2 separate regions of the Homo sapiens genome follow, and region 1 is linked to region 2. The links are contacts of gene promoters, found by promoter capture Hi-C in blood cells and fetal thymus (Javierre and others, 2016). All regions are on one chromosome and are shown on one strand. Each heading gives the region's core, a stretch centred on a gene start or on the middle of the fragment in contact. The rest is flanking DNA. Distances are from core to core; before and after follow the strand shown. Region 1 holds the start of CDK4 (cyclin dependent kinase 4). Region 2 holds the start of RDH5 (retinol dehydrogenase 5).

Region 1 (4,660 bases), core at 2,161-4,660, 2.0 Mb before region 2:
CGCGGCTCCGACCCGTAGTACTCCTCCTCGTCGCCGTCGCCGTCCCGGGTGGAGCAGCCAGCGAAGGGCGCCCAGCCGCAGCCGCCTCCCCGGCCCCCCCGGGGTTGCGGCTCGGCCCGGGGCCGCCCCCCGCCTGTCAGCACCAGCAGCTTCAGCTCGTTCAGAAACATGCGGAGCCGAGACTTGAGCATCGTCCGGACACCGGGGGCGGGGGGCAGCGTGCAAGGGGGGCTCGCTAGCGGCGGGGGGAGGGGAGAGGACAAGGCCGGGAAGGGGGCGCGCGCTAGAGAGCCGAGCCGGGCCGGGGTCTTCGGGGCCTGCGACAGCCGTTCACTGCTGCCACCGCCGGGGCTCCGGTGCTTGCGGGGCCGAGCGGGCTGGCGGCCCGGGGGCGGCGGGGTGGGCGGCCATGGCCAGGGCAGGGGGCGGGGAGGGGGGCTCAGGGTGCCGCACCCCGCGGGTCTGGGTCTGGAGCGGGCCGGGCCCCCGGGGTTACGCGCCCGGGTCCTCCTGCGGCGGGGCCGCCCCCCATCGCCGTTCTCTCGGTCCCAGTCCCCCTCCGGCTCCGGGATCAGGCTTGGCTCGGCCCGTGCGCTCGGCGGTGGCAAATGGCGGCTCCTTCCGGCGGCGGCGGCGGCGGAGACCCCCCCGGAGTGGCGGGCGGGCGGGGCGGGCGCCGGGGAGCGGGTGAAGGATGGAGGGAGGGGCGGGGCGGGGAGGGGGAGAGGAGAAGGGGCCGCGGCTGCGCATCCCCGCCCTGCCCCGCACGAGCAGGTGTCCCAGGGGCGGGGGCAAGTGTGGGATCCCGAGGAGGGTGGAGGAAGGGGAGTGGCCAAGGAAGGGGAGTGTGCACACAAGTTGACTAGGTGTGTGTCTGGGAGTGGGGGATGAGCGGGTGAGCATGGAAGGTGAGTGGTTAAATGACGCAGGTGTACCAGGGAGGGTGAGGCTTGTGCAAAATGGGAATGTGCAAAGAAAGAGCTGTGCAAGTGTCGGAGGTGTGAGGGAGGTACATGGGCAGGGGTGGGACTCAAGCAATATACACTTTACCCAAAGGGCTGAAAAGTGTGATCGATGGGGACTGGGAAAGAGAGGTGTGTAAGGAATGGAATCGGATTGTCTGAGAAACAGAAGCCTGTGATTGTAATGTGTGAAGGAGGTGAGGGAGGGAGCAGGGGAGGTAGGCGTGCTAAAGGGATGGGAGTGTCTTTCCTGGTACTCTCCTGCCCTCACCTCCACTACACTGAAGTGAACAATACACACACTTACCCCTTTCCTTTTATGGAGACTTCCCTCTGAGGCCAAGTTCTACCCCCATCACATTTTTTTCTTTCTTACACTTACATTCTCCCTCTCCTCCCCTTTGCAAAGCTGAGGGAAAAGGGATTCCAGGGGAGCTCATTGGGTCAAACATACTGGGAAAAAATTTAATTAGTGAAAGAGTAATTAACAGAAGAAGGGAGGGGACAGAGCCTGGGACAGACTGCCAAATTAAGGTTCCTCAATAGAAAGTGATGGAGAGACAGTAATGTTCCCATGAAGTATTCAAATGTTTTGGATGGACTAATGAATGAATCAGAAAAAGGGGCTGGGACCCAAGCAGACAGAGAGGACGTCTTCTGTTGCAAAGACAGTAAGCTGTGAAGGTCTTATGTGGAAGGTGAGGCTGAAGTGGGGAATGCTGGTGTGGGAAGGGAGTTTGAAAAACTCACAGACAATTATCTTAGCCTTCCAGAAGGCTTACAAAGCACCCACCCCTAGCAAGGTAGCCAATAAAACATTCACCTCTTGAGCCCCTTAGTCAGTTCAGTCCTTGAGGTTTTTCTTACTAGTGTTCCAGCTGCCCTTGCCAGGAGGGGCCCAGGGCTACAAGTATCAGGATGGAAAGAGGAGGCATCTGTATTAATATGTATTCTATTTTGCTCTAAGTCATGGTTTATATTCATCTTCTAGTTTGAACTCTTATATTCTCAGCCAGATGGTTAAGGAAAACAGAAGTTAGAGTGGAAGGAGTGGCAAATAGGGTAATAAAATGGCTTTAGATTTTAGACAAATTCTCACAAATGAGACACTAACCGCTTTCCTCCTTTACTCCCATACCCCCAAAGGGCTGGGAGATAAAGACCTTGGAGCCAATAAAACAAAGTAGGAGAAATCTACTTGTGTCTACCTAGGTGTCTGGGCAGAGGCCATTTGGGAACAAGTGTGTTCTGGACAGTGCTAAGTGCTAAGAAAGCGGCACTAGGGAAAAAGAGGGAAGCACAATAACTCCAAATGAGTAGTCACAAGGTTTGCAGAAGGGGGCATGTCATTTTCATTCATTGTGGTGGTCTGGAGGGTGCAGGGGGTGTGGTGGTAACTTTCTTGCACATGTGCAATCCTGTATCCGTCTTATATATGATGTGATAAATAATATCATATACATACATATATACATAGAAGCATATATGCACACATACAAATATCACATAATCATAGAACCTTCCTACTGGAAAAAAAAAAAAAACTTAAAAGGTCAAGTATTCCTGTCTCCTGCTCATCAATAACTTCTCTGCCAGATGGCCTCAGGTCTTTGCATTAACACTCCCAGGGAGGTTTGGAAGTTGGAAAAGTGAGAGGATTACCTTGTCACTGAGCCTGTTGGATTACTGTATTAATCTGCCTTCCGTCATCCTTTAATCGTAGTTTTGCCCTCAAATGGGCATTGTTTACTCCCTATTGTAGAAGACCCCATTGTTGGCTACATCTTTATAGATAGTCGTACCACTACTTTAAAGGGCCAGTGACAGACACCAAAAACAAAATAAAAACCCACATACACACTGGAAGCAAGCACTCAGTAAAATGTTGTAGAATTAATGAATGAAACAATGACACAAATGAGAGTATGTTTTCTCATGGTGGAGCGAAAAGGTGACAGCATCACCTCTGGTACCCCAACTCCCACCCCCTCCCCAATGCAGACAGGCTGAAAGACCGGTAGTGAGACTGGAGTTCAGCCTTCAGACCGGTAGTGAGACAATCCTTCAGCCGGGAGTTGGGCTCTGGGTGGCCTAGGTTGCCATGGCACCGCCTCGGGCTCCACCCTCTCTTGTCCCCCTCACCGCTCCCCCCCTGCAGCGGGGGTTGTGGCAGCCAGTCACGTGCCCGCCGCGTAGCCACACCTCTGCTCCTCAGAGCAATGTCAAGCGGTCACGTGTGATAGCAACAGATCACGTGGCTGCCATCGCCCCTCCGCCCCCTTACACTCTTCGCCCTCCTCCCAGTCGAAGCACCTCCTGTCCGCCCCTCAGCGCATGGGTGGCGGTCACGTGCCCAGAACGTCCGGCGTTCGCCCCGCCCTCCCAGTTTCCGCGCGCCTCTTTGGCAGCTGGTCACATGGTGAGGGTGGGGGTGAGGGGGCCTCTCTAGCTTGCGGCCTGTGTCTATGGTCGGGCCCTCTGCGTCCAGCTGCTCCGGACCGAGCTCGGGTGTATGGGGCCGTAGGAACCGGCTCCGGGGCCCCGATAACGGGCCGCCCCCACAGCACCCCGGGCTGGCGTGAGGTAAGTGCAGTCCCTTCCCAGGAATGAGAACCAGTGCCCGCCCCCCTCACAGCTTTCCACGCGTTCGTTTCGCGAGCTGGTTATGGAAGGGTCGCTCAAGGGCGGGAAGTGGGGCCTTTGTGGTCATGGGAAAGTATAATTTTAGGGACTGAGGTGTAGGATCTTCGATGCAAGGCATGTGTCATGTGTGATCTTTGTGCGGGGCGCGATTGTCCCAAAGGAAAAAGCGTTTTCTATTGCAGGGCCTCACGTGGCTGGAGGGGTTGGTATTGAGTCATTGTGTTATCTCTGGGGCCGGCCCCAAGGAAGACTGGGAGCGGGGGATGGGATGCTGGTGGTGTTCTTTGCGCTTTTTTTTTGGGAGTCCCTTTGTTGCTGCAGGCTCATACCATCCTAACTCTGTAAGCGACTTTTGGTGATAGGAGTCTGTGATTGTAGGGTCTCCCTTGATCTGAGAATGGCTACCTCTCGATATGAGCCAGTGGCTGAAATTGGTGTCGGTGCCTATGGGACAGTGTACAAGGCCCGTGATCCCCACAGTGGCCACTTTGTGGCCCTCAAGAGTGTGAGAGTCCCCAATGGAGGAGGAGGTGGAGGAGGCCTTCCCATCAGCACAGTTCGTGAGGTGGCTTTACTGAGGCGACTGGAGGCTTTTGAGCATCCCAATGTTGTCCGGTGAGAAGGTGGTGGAGGGTTGGGCGTGGGGAGTAAAGGGAAAAGACAGCCTATAGGTGGGGTGTGATGATCTGTAGAGAAGTGGGGACCCTGAGGAAATAATGAGAGGCCATGTTGGGTTAAAGGGGATTGAAAAGTGAGCATTTACTCTGGTCAGGCTGATGGACGTCTGTGCCACATCCCGAACTGACCGGGAGATCAAGGTAACCCTGGTGTTTGAGCATGTAGACCAGGACCTAAGGACATATCTGGACAAGGCACCCCCACCAGGCTTGCCAGCCGAAACGATCAAGGTGAGTGGGGTTGGTAGGCATTGAGAGGTGGATTGGGACCTTTGTAGTAGAACCTTCTGGGATTTCAGGTATGGTGCCTAGTTTCCAGTGCATCTGTACCTCCCCTTTGAAACTAGGATCTGATGCGCCAGTTTCTAAGAGGCCTAG
Region 2 (4,223 bases), core at 626-3,125:
CTGTAAAAAAATACTAGCCAGGCATGCTGGCACGCGCCTGTGGTCTCAGCTACTCAGGAGGCTGAGGCGGATATCGCTTGAGCTGCTTGAGCCTAGGAGTTTGAAGTTCAGTGGGCCGTGACTGCACCACTGCACTCCACCCTGGGTGAGAGCAAGGCCTTGTCTCAAAACTAAAAGTATGTGTCCCATGATGCTGCCTGAAAAATTAAGGCTGAGAGACAGGAGACATTCAGGTTATTTGCTGAGTGATGGTGACAAACGCAGGCTTCCTTAGAAGGTAGACTAAGCTTAGGCGCCTTATACTCCTGCTAAGAACTCAGGCCTTGGGCCGTGTGTGGTGGCTCATGCCTGTAATCCCAGCACTTTGGGAGGCCGGGTCGGGTGGATCACCTGAGGTCAGGAGTTCAAAACCAGCCTGGCCAACATGGTATAACTCCATCTCTACTAAAAATACAAAAAAATTAGCTGGGAGTGGTGGCACGTGCCTGTAAGCCCAGCTAATCGGGAGGCTGAGGCAGGAGAATCACATGAACCTGAGAGGCAGGGGTTGCAGTGAGCTGAGATCTCGCCATTGCACTCCAGCCTAGGCAACAAGAGCAAAACGCTTAAAAAAAAAAAAACAAAAAAAAACTCAGGCCCTACTCCCGTTGTCCTCATCATGTCTCCTTTGTGCTCCCACGGAACTTTGAACCTTATTGTTTAAAGACGAGAGGCAAGGCCGGGCGTGGTGGCTCACACCTGTAATCCCAGCACTTTGGGAGGCTGAGGTGGGCGGATCACGAGGTCAGGAGTTTGAGACCAACCTGGCCAACATAGTGAAACCCTGTCTCTACTAAAAATACAAAAATAAGCCAGGCATGGTGGCGCATGCCTGTAGTCCCAGCTACTCGGGAGGCTGAGGCAGGAGAATCGCTTGAACCCCGGGGGTGGAAATTGTGGTGAGCCAAGATCGCGCCACTGCACTCCAGCCTGGCGACAGAGCAAGACTCCATCTCAAAAAACAAAAAACAAACACGTTAAAAATGGGTAAAGAGAAGTAATCTACTTATGGTCACAAAGCTTACATAAGGGTAGACTTCATTGAACCCATGAAGTCTAGCCCTAAACTGTCTCTTCTTAACTATTCCAATGTGCTGTATCTTAACCACCTCTGCTGGCCCACGTTTGTTGAGTGGGCTGCTGTTAGTCCTGGAACCCAGAGCCCTGTACCCCTCACCTCAGGCTGTCAGAGAAGGCCTCCAGGCCAAATTTGGAGACACAGTAGCCCCCACCATTGGCTGCCAGGCGACCCAGGACGCTGGTGATGTTGATCACCCGGCCCCGGGCTTGCTGCAGCAGAGGCAGCAGGGCAAGGGTGACCCCGATGGGACCCATTGTGTTCACATTCAGCACCCGCTGGAAATCGTCCCGGGTCAGCCATGGTGTGGGTCCGATGATACCAGCCACACCAGCATTATTCACCAGACCAAAAAGCCCTGTGGGGAGATGAAAAGGATGCTGGGGGTAGGTGAGGCACTCCCACAGCTCCCTCTTCTTCCTGGGAGCATCTGAAAACTGCTTCTCCTCAAATTGTCCCTTTAGCTTACCACAGCCCTTGCAGGTGACTCCTGGGGTGACTGTGGGGATCAGGACACCCCACACCATATTCCTGGTGGTCTACCATACTTACCTGCTTCCTTAACGTGCATCTCCACCCACTTGGCTGCCTGCTGGACGCTCTGGGGATCAGTGATATCCAACAGGGTGGTGTGGAGGCGGGAGGAGGCCACCCGCTGCAGGTCCTCGGCCCCGGAGGGGGTCAGGCAGCTGGCCAGGACTCGGAAGCCTCTCTGGTCCAGCTGCAGTGCCAGAAGGCGCCCAAAGCCTGAGTCACAGCCGGTGATGAAGACAAAGGCATTGCTGGCGGGCAGGCTCTGCCGGTCCCTGAGCAACCACAGCACTGCCCAGAGTAAGGCACCCAGCAGAAGAGGCAGCCACATAGCTGGAGCCCAAGTGACCTACAGGTGGCAGCCTAGGCTGGGCAGAAAAACTTGTCCAGTTTACTGTGGCCCTCAAGCCCTTTCCCCTAATACCCTCCCTAGCTGGAAGCATCTGGTGTGAGCATATTGAGAAATTATCTGGTTGGCAGATAATTGGCCAACCATGGCTCATCTGTTCAAAGCAAAGATGTGGGCAGACCCTGTATTTGTGGCTAACTTAACTAAAACCACATGAGCCAGATCCTGTGTACAGACCTGCTGTATGGAGCAGAGGCATCTTTTTTTTTTTTTTTTTTTTTTTGAGATGGAGTCTCACTCTGTCGCCCAGGCTGGAGTGCAGCAGAGGCATCTTCTTGCTTGCCTCACACCACCTCTCCTTCTAAACCAGGGACACTGAACCTTCTATATGCAACCTGGGTCTTGTGTTTGGAATGATGTATAGGGCCAAGAGGTTTGCTGTGTGATACTGAGCATCTCACTGTCTCTCTCAACCTATTTTCTCATCTACCAAGTGGGGCTAAGACCCACCAGGTCCACCTCAGAGTTGTGGAGGATCAAAGGGGATAATGTGTGAGGAAGCATGTTAAAAGCTGAAAGTTTTGAGTTGGCAATACATGTAATATCTGGCTAGTCTTCTCAGTTCCCCCAGCTCCCAGTATCCACTTACCTCCTGTGGCGAAAGCTGGCAGGTACTACAGCGCCCGAAGCTTATTCTTTTGCTTTTGTTTAAGAGACTGCTCCCAGTCTTCCCAGCCTCCCACACTAACTACTGCTAAGGCCAAAGTCCGGAGTGGGTGGACTTGGATGCCAGGCGTATTAAGTGTATGTGTGACAGGGTGGGGATAGGACTGAGGAGGAGGAGGAGCCAGGGAGGCTGGAGCTTGCCTGGCTGAAGCCAGGACTTGGCAGAGGCCAGATTTGCCTAGGCTCCCCCCACCCCTTGGCTGTCTTTCTCAGCCTGGGTTCCTGACCATCTATGTCATGGTCTCCAAGGAGGAGGGAGCTGTCAAGGATGGCAGCTGCACTGCTCTGTTGGTAACGGTTACTGGACCTGTCATTCCTCCCCCTTCTCAGCCCTGAAGTGCCCCCAGGAATTAATCTCCCACCTGGCTCAGACTCATGACACTGCTTAGAGTTAGCCTGGGAGAGGCCATGAGCACGTGGAGAGGCAGAAAGCCAGAGCTGGGGACCAGGCCTGTACCTTGCCTTGTTTCTCTTCTGTAGGAAACAAGTCCTGAATTAGGAAGCTTGGGGCAGGGCTACTAGGACCTTCTCTCAGGAGGGATGGGAACTCCCACCCTCTGCTTGCCTAACAGACACCTGCACAAGGGCCATGGAGGAGAAGAGAGTTGGGATAGTAAGAGGAAGCTAGTTCCACCCTCTCCCCAAAAGGTACCTGTCCCTCAGGGAAACCACCTTTGAACCTTCCACTCCCACCCCCGACACTGGAGCTAGTAGCTCTCTGAAACACACCACAGAGAAACGGAGGCTTGTGTTTTATTCAAGGCTTGTCAGCCTCCCTCCTTCCCCCTGCGGGTGAGGTAGGAGGGATAGGGTTGGGGGAGGGAACAGGGGCTAGGAAGGGGCAGACTGCAGCTGCCCTTTGTAGACATATTCCAGTGCAGTGGCAATGGTGCGCATGTCCAGCTCGATGCTCCGAGCCCAGTTCTCCACATCCCCAATTTCCTGGGAAGGGGGAGAGGAGGTGGGAGCCCAGGAATCAGAATGGGTAGAGTATGGCTTCCAGTCTGGGGAATACGTTTTATTCATCTCCTGGAAAAGGCTTTACTTGGACCCACCAACTGCTTTTCTTTCTTTCTCTACCTTTTCTGACACTGGGGCTATAGATGGGGTTTCTGGGACCACCCTACTTCCTCCTTAACCTAAACCTGAGGTAACCTGACTGGAGGCAGCCAATGGGGGCCCAGGATTGGGGTGGTGAGGTAGGGAGTATGGCCCACCTTGAGTGCCTGGTTGAAGTTCTCCACCATTCCGATCCACTGGCCTGTCTGCTTGGCAAATTGGGCAGCCTGGACCTGTAGGGTCTTCACCTCATGGTCCAGCTTTCTCTGGTTCATGTAGGCCTGGGCCACACTGGGGGGTTGGAGGAGGGAGGAGATCAGCTCCAGCTAGTTGGGGGTGGTCTCCGGGACTAATATTCCATTGCAGCAGTGGGAGTTCAGCCAAGAATCAGGGCTCATAATTTTGGCCATTTTTGGATGTGATGCAAATGACTACCAGTAC

The links. The method cuts DNA at HindIII sites, captures the fragments that hold promoters and counts their contacts. A CHiCAGO score of 5 or more calls a contact.
Region 1: a contact is called between the fragment with the promoter of CDK4 here and a fragment that was not itself captured in region 2, in 1 of 17 cell types (total CD4 T cells). The highest score is 6.6, in total CD4 T cells.

Annotation. Positions count from the first base shown.
Region 1 is chr12:57,751,060-57,755,719 of GRCh38, reverse strand. CDK4 (cyclin dependent kinase 4) reads left to right here and starts at 3,410. Exons shown (of 8, transcript NM_000075.4): 1 at 3,410-3,545; 2 at 3,984-4,220; 3 at 4,378-4,513; 4 at 4,630-4,660. The coding sequence starts at 4,003. MARCHF9 (membrane associated ring-CH-type finger 9) reads right to left here and starts at 617. Exons shown (of 4, transcript NM_138396.6): 1 at 1-617. The coding sequence starts at 191. RefSeq lists silencers at 1-14, 75-174, 2,961-3,080, 3,311-3,390, 4,121-4,260 and 1 more and an enhancer at 3,051-3,784. The HindIII fragment of the contact is 8,675 bases long and covers 1-4,660 here.
Region 2 is chr12:55,718,941-55,723,163 of GRCh38, reverse strand. It overlaps RDH5 (retinol dehydrogenase 5), which reads right to left and starts at 2,771. Exons shown (of 5, transcript NM_002905.5): 1 at 2,647-2,771; 2 at 1,670-2,011; 3 at 1,217-1,475. The coding sequence starts at 1,979. It overlaps BLOC1S1-RDH5 (BLOC1S1-RDH5 readthrough), which reads right to left. Exons shown (of 6, transcript NR_037658.1): 3 at 3,941-4,073; 4 at 1,217-1,475. BLOC1S1 (biogenesis of lysosomal organelles complex 1 subunit 1) reads right to left here. Exons shown (of 4, transcript NM_001487.4): 3 at 3,941-4,073; 4 at 3,461-3,665. The coding sequence ends at 3,555. RefSeq lists an enhancer at 1,708-2,336. The HindIII fragment of the contact is 1,627 bases long and covers 1,062-2,688 here.